Regions from separate parts of the Homo sapiens genome. Here region 2 is linked to region 1. Evidence: promoter capture Hi-C in human tissues and cell types (Jung and others, 2019). All regions are on one chromosome and are shown on one strand. The core of a region is centred on a gene start or on the middle of the fragment in contact, and the rest is flanking DNA. Distances in the headings are between cores, read along the strand shown.

What was found. The method cuts DNA at HindIII sites, captures the fragments that hold promoters and counts their contacts. A contact is called where the count stands out against the background at its distance.
Region 2: a fragment that was not itself captured here is called in contact with the fragment with the promoter of EYA2 in region 1 in 3 of the 25 tissues and cell types used here (H1 embryonic stem cells, dorsolateral prefrontal cortex and mesendoderm cells).

The regions. Positions count from the first base shown.
Region 1 is chr20:46,893,379-46,896,346 of GRCh38, reverse strand. EYA2 (EYA transcriptional coactivator and phosphatase 2) reads right to left here and starts at 1,504. Exons shown (of 16, transcript NM_005244.5): 1 at 1,360-1,504. The HindIII fragment of the contact is 22,949 bases long and covers 1-2,968 here.
Region 2 is chr20:47,102,249-47,105,375 of GRCh38, reverse strand. All of the region lies in intron 9 of EYA2 (EYA transcriptional coactivator and phosphatase 2), which reads right to left. Among named protein-coding and RNA genes, the nearest start is that of MIR3616, 63 kb to the left of the region's middle. The HindIII fragment of the contact is 6,554 bases long and covers 1-3,127 here.

The DNA of each region.
Region 1 (2,968 bases), core at 255-2,754:
AGGTGCTTACTAGTTCTGTATCTATTATGGTCACAGACATTTCACTCAATCAAGAAACGGCTCATGAAATTAATAGATTCGGTTTGAAATACAATTGTCCACTGGTTATAATTTCCTTTGTAAGGGATCTCCCTAACTCAAACATAATTCAGTGCTCAAATTCTTACATGATGTTTGTAAATCATCCTCCTGCCCCTCCGCCCTCGCTAACAGCTAGATTCCAATGTTCAGCTCTTCCACTGCACCTCGTAATTAAAAGGTACCTCTTACCGGGGTGATTTATACCTCCACGTTATATTTTAAAAAGTAATTGAAGATTACATAGCATTTCGGGGAAGGGGAAAGAAAAGAAAAGGGTATCCATAAAAACGCAGCATCGGTCTTGCTTTTTAAAAAGAATTCAGACCGCGGCAGGGTGCACGCTGTCAACTCTCAGCCTCGGCTTCGGGGAAGCAGGAACCTCGCACTGCAAAAGGCGCTTCCAGTTCAACAGCTGAGAAAAGCGCACTGAGTCTTTTGCGATAGGAGTACGTTCACCAGTCACGCTTTCCTAGTATTCCTTGAGCTTATAAACTATTTATTGCTGGGGGGGAGGCAGGCAGGAATATATTGAAGGAGCCTGGGCCAGCACGGCCGTTTAACCTCCAGACTTCATGACTAAAAAACAATTCCATTTCCCACTTTCTCCCATTACAACGAAATCCTTGCCGCCTTCTAAACACCCTTCGGATGTAAACTTTTCTAAGTTTCAACTCTACCCGCAGCAGGCGCCAGGATTCCCTGCCCCGGTTCAAAGCCCCAGACCTGAACCAGAGCGGGCCGAGCGCAAACGGACTTTTGAAAAGAAATATATCAATAGCTAGAAGGCAAAGTCTCAGCGGGCCGTTCCAGCCCCAAGCCGGGATTCCAGCGGTTGGCTCTGCTTCTTGGTTATCCCATAAACACTACCTGAGGGCTTGAGTTTGCGGACTGGGGGAGCGCCCCTTATCGCGAACCGCCGGGACCATAATCGAACAAAACGCCAAGGACCCAGCCGCGTCTACACCGCCTGCGCGCCATGCACTTGTCCCGCGCGCGGGAGAGCAAACTTCAGGGTCGTTGCCCCAAAGCGCATGGGGAAACTGGGGCCCCGAGCCTGGGAGAGCCTTTCCAGAGGGGGGCTCTGCTGCTGTCCCCTCTGCCCTTGTGCCTTCCTGGCCCTGGGAGGCCCGTGCGCCCCAGAACGTCCCGACAGCTGCGGAGGCCCCGCTTGGCGAGTGCCAGAAAGAGGCGCAGGGCGAGGGGGTCCCGGTGAACAACTCCCCCCGCCCGGCGAATCCCGGCGGGCGGCCTGGGGTGGGCGCCGCTGGCGGTACTCACCGCGCGCAGTGGAGAGGGCGCCCCGACGCGGTGCGGGCGGGCGGGCGGGCCGGTGCGGGTCCGACGAGGCCGGGCTGACTGCGGCGGGCACGTTGCTGTCTCTGCCGTTGCCGCTGCCTCCGCCTCCTGGGCTGCCGCGGCTGCTGCCTGCGCCGGGAGGACCGGCCCCTTCTCCTCCCTGGGCCGGGCCCTCCCTCTGCCCCCGCCCGGGTCCCCGCGCCGCTGCGTGGGCGCGTGGGGGCGCCGAGGCGCGACGCTGGGCTACGCGGGCGCACACACCCGGCGGCTGGACGCAGGGCGCGGGGCTCTGGCCCAGCACGTGCCGCCGCGCCGCTTCCTGAGCCTGCAGCCGAGCAGAGCGCGCTCACTCTCGCCGGTCCTGGAGGCCAGGGCCCAGCCTCCTCCCCACCCACCGACACCCCGCACCTCCTCCCTCCCCGGGGCAGCACATCCTCCCTGCAACCCAGGCATGACCCCTGTGAAAGGAACGACGGCTCGGAGAGGACCTCAATAGTGACACTAACATTCGTTCACTCAACCACCCATTCATTCATTCAAAATATATTGAGCATCTACTGTGCCAGGTACCACTCCTGAGAGACTCAGCTAGAACAAGACAGACTAGTTTTCTGCCCTCCCGGAACTTGCATTCACATGGAGAGGCAAACCATAAACAAATAACCAAGTAAAGAAGCAAGACAGTTTCAGAAAGTTAGAGTTACAGGGAGAAAAATAATATATGTATCTGCTGTTGGGGAGTGGAGGAGAGGCGGTAATTTTAGCTAGAGCAGTCAGGGAAGACCTCTCTGAGGAGGTGACATCTGAATTATGAGGAAGTGCCATTGGTGTGGTATTTAGGTGAGAACGGTTCAGGGGTCTCCCCTATGTTTCACCCATTTTACAGCTAAGGAAACTGAGGTCTCAAGAGCTTAACTGGTTTAGTGAAAGTGAGAGGTATAGCCCCCTCCACCTACATGCCCAAATCAAGGCACCCCACTTACTCCATCCTCTCATAGCCACCCCCCTTTTAGTCTCCCTGGCAATGAACTGTGTTAATTGGAGTCTATGCAGCCTTTCCTAGCCCGTCACCCACTCTCTAATGTCTATGAATTCCACCGTGGGACACCCAGGATGCTTCAATCCAAAAGCAATATCAACCACTGTCATTTCTTAAGTGCAGTAAAAGACAGGGCACCCAGGTGAATTTGAATTTCAGAGAAACGAGGAATCAGTTGCAGTATATGTCTTATGCGATTGGTTGTACGTACTTATATTTAAAAAGTATTTCTTTTGTCTCCGAAATTCCAATGTAACCGGGGGTCCTATATTTTTATTTGCAACCTTAAGCTCATCCAATGCCCAACTCTTCCTTATCTCATGTAATCCCCAAGAGAGACCCCAAGGTAGCTGCTGTCAGCACACTCATTTCACAAATGAGCAGGTCCAAGCTCAAAGAAGGCAGAAAGTGGCTGAGCCAGGAATGAAATTCAGGCCTGGCTGACTCCAAAGCCGTTGCTCTTGAGCCGTAACAGTCTTCAATTCCAGTTGTAAGTTTACAGGAGCTGATGAAGGTTAAGTTCTTGGGCCCCTGACTTGCTTGGACCCCTTT
Region 2 (3,127 bases), core at 581-3,080, 210 kb before region 1:
TGGGATTACAGGCATGGGCCACCACGCCCAGCCACTGGGCAGATTCGTGAATAAAGGAGCCATGTAGAAAATGGGGAGATGGGCATTCCTGGCACAGGGAACAACAGCAAGTGCAAAGGCTATGTTAAAACCACAAAAAATAAAACCAATGGAGATGCCAATTATAAAGGTCAAGACTGGTCATAAGAACAAAGGTGGAGGACTCCTACTTTCCATTTTTGAAACTTACTACAAAGCTACAGTAATCAAGACAGTGTGGTACTGGCATAAGGGCATACATACAGATCTATGGGATAAAATGAAGAGTCAAGAAATAAACATATTTACGGCCAATTGATTTTTTAAAAAAATTTTTGAGATAGAGTCTGGCTCTGTCGCCCAGGCTGGAGTGCAATGGCATGATCTTGGTTCACTGCAGCCTCCACCTCCCGGGTTCAAGGAATTCTCATGCCTAAGCCTCCCAAGTAGCTGGGATTACAGACGTGCACCATCTCATCTGGCTAATTTTTGTATTTTTAGTAGAGATGGAGTTTCACCATGTTGGCCAGGCTGGTCTTGAACTCCTGGCCTCATGTAATCCACCTGCCTGGACCTCCCAGAGTGCTGAGATTACAGGTGTGAGCCACTGCACCTGGCTGCCAATTGATTTTCTGACAGGATGTTGAGACAATTCAGTAGGGGAAAGAAGAGTCTTTTCAACAAATGCTACTGGGACGACTTGATAGTCATAGGTAAAACAATGAGGTTGCACCCCTGCCTCACATCATACACACAAATTAACTCAAAATGGATCACAGACCTAAATGTAAGAGCTAAAATGAGAAAATTCTTAGAAAAAAGTGCAGGAGTAAATCTCTGTGACCTAGGTTAGGCAATAGGGTCTCAGATATGACACCAAAAGCAAAAGTAACCAAAGAAAATATACATAAATTGCACTTCATAAAAATAAAAAGCTTGGTATTTCAAAGGATACCACAAAGAAAATGGAAAGACAACTCACAGAATGAGAGAGAAAATATTTGCAAATCACATATCTGATAATAGACTGGTATCCAGATATATAAAAACTCTTATAATGATATAAAGACAAACCAATTAAAAATGAGCAAAAGATTTGAATAAATATTTTTCCAAAGAAGATATACAAATGGCCAATAAGCACATAAAAACATCACTAGTCACTTGTCAACATTATTAGGGAAATGCCAATCAAACCCACAATGAGATACCACTTCATACTTACTAGGACTATAGCCAAAAAGGCAGACAATAACATATTGATGAGGATGTGGAGAAATTGGAGCCATTTTACATGGCTGATGGGAAGGTAAAATGATACAGTCACTTTGGAAAATAATCTGGCTGTTCCTCAAAAGCATTAAACCTAGAGTTACCATGTGGCCCAGCAATTCTACTCCTAGGCATATACCTAAGAGAATTAAAAACATATGCACATGCAAATACTTGTATGCCAATGTTCATAGCAGCATTATTCATAATGGCCCAAACTTCAACTATCCAACTGATAAATGGATAGACAAAATATAGTTTATCCATGAACTGTGATATGGTCTGGCTCTGTGTCCCCACCCAAATCTCATCTTGAATCATAATCCAAATTGTAATCCCCTTGTGTTGGTGGAGGAACCTCGTGGGAGGTGATTGGATCATAGGGGTGGTTTCCCCCATGCTGTTCTTGTGGTGGGTGGGTGGGTTGTCACTATGTCTGATCGTTTTACAAGGGGCTCTTCCCCCTACACTCTGAACTTTCTCTCTCCTACTGCCTTGTGAAGAAGGAAGTGTTTGCTTCCTCTTCTGCCATGTTCGTTAACTTTCCTGAGGCCTCTCCAGCCACGCAGAACTGTGAGATGATTTAACCTATTTCCTTTATAAATTACCCAGTCTTGAATATTTGTTTATAGCCATGTGAAAATGGACTAATACACAATGGAAAATTATGTGGCCATAAAAAGGAATGGAGTACTGATACATGCTACAACACGGATGATCACACGTACTGTGTGATTCCCTTTATATGAAATATCCAGAAGAGGCAAATCTGTAGAGAAAGAAAGTAGATTAGTGGTTGTCAGGGGCCAGGGGGAGAAGGAAATGGCAGGGGTGACTGCTAGTGAGTATAGGGTTTCTTTTTGGGGTGATGAAAATATTCTAAAATTAGAGTGGTGATGGTTGTACAACTCTGTGAATATACTAAAAATTACTGAATTGTACACATCGAAAGGGTAAATTATGATATGTAGATTGTATCTCAATAAAATTGTTATTAACAACAACAACAACAACAGGTCCTGGAGTTGAGCTTCATATTGGTAGTGGGCTGCCTAGAAGGCAAGGCACAAAAGGAGGAGTCAGGGCAACTCCCCATGAATCCCTGGAGGAAAGCTGACTAATTTCTTTTAGAATCCCTTCCTGGCCACAGGCAAAGGCTCTTGACCACCTTGCATTTGCCTAATACCAGCTGGAAAAAAACAGAGTTCAGAGACTGCGGAGGAGGGTGGTAGGGGAAGGGAGGGGTTAGGAAAGAGGCAGCAGTCACTGGCTGCTCCAGCTCTCTAGGGAATTTCTAATGGATCCACAAGATGCTGGGAGATACAGCTACCAAAGGGATGTTCTGGCTCTGAGCACTGGGGAGGAAGAAATGGAAAGGAAGTGAAGAGATGACAGCCTCAAGCAGCACATCCCTTGATTGGGAACAGAACGGGAGCCCAGTTTCTGTCTTAAAATTCAAACAACCTATTTTGAATCATTCCCCAATCATTTTAGCTTTGTTGGGCTTAGTTCCCCCAAAAAACAGCAAGTCCCCACTCTGGCTGGTACTATTAATGATTTTGGCTTCCTGCATGGTATGCAGCATGATGGCCACAAGCAAAGTGCTGCTGGTTCTTGTCATGGATGTTCAGGGGATCTTGGCATCCAGTGCCCATTCACTGGACATCCATGGGCCTTCATACTCTTCTGGAAGGATTACTCCAGTTTCCTTTGGGGGACCATCCTCCCTCTCTCACTCTATTTGGTTGAGGTGGAGCTGATCTGCCCCTCCTTTCCCATGCCAGGAGTGGGCTCTTGATTTGGCTGGCCAATCAGAGCTACAGAGGTTGGCATATGG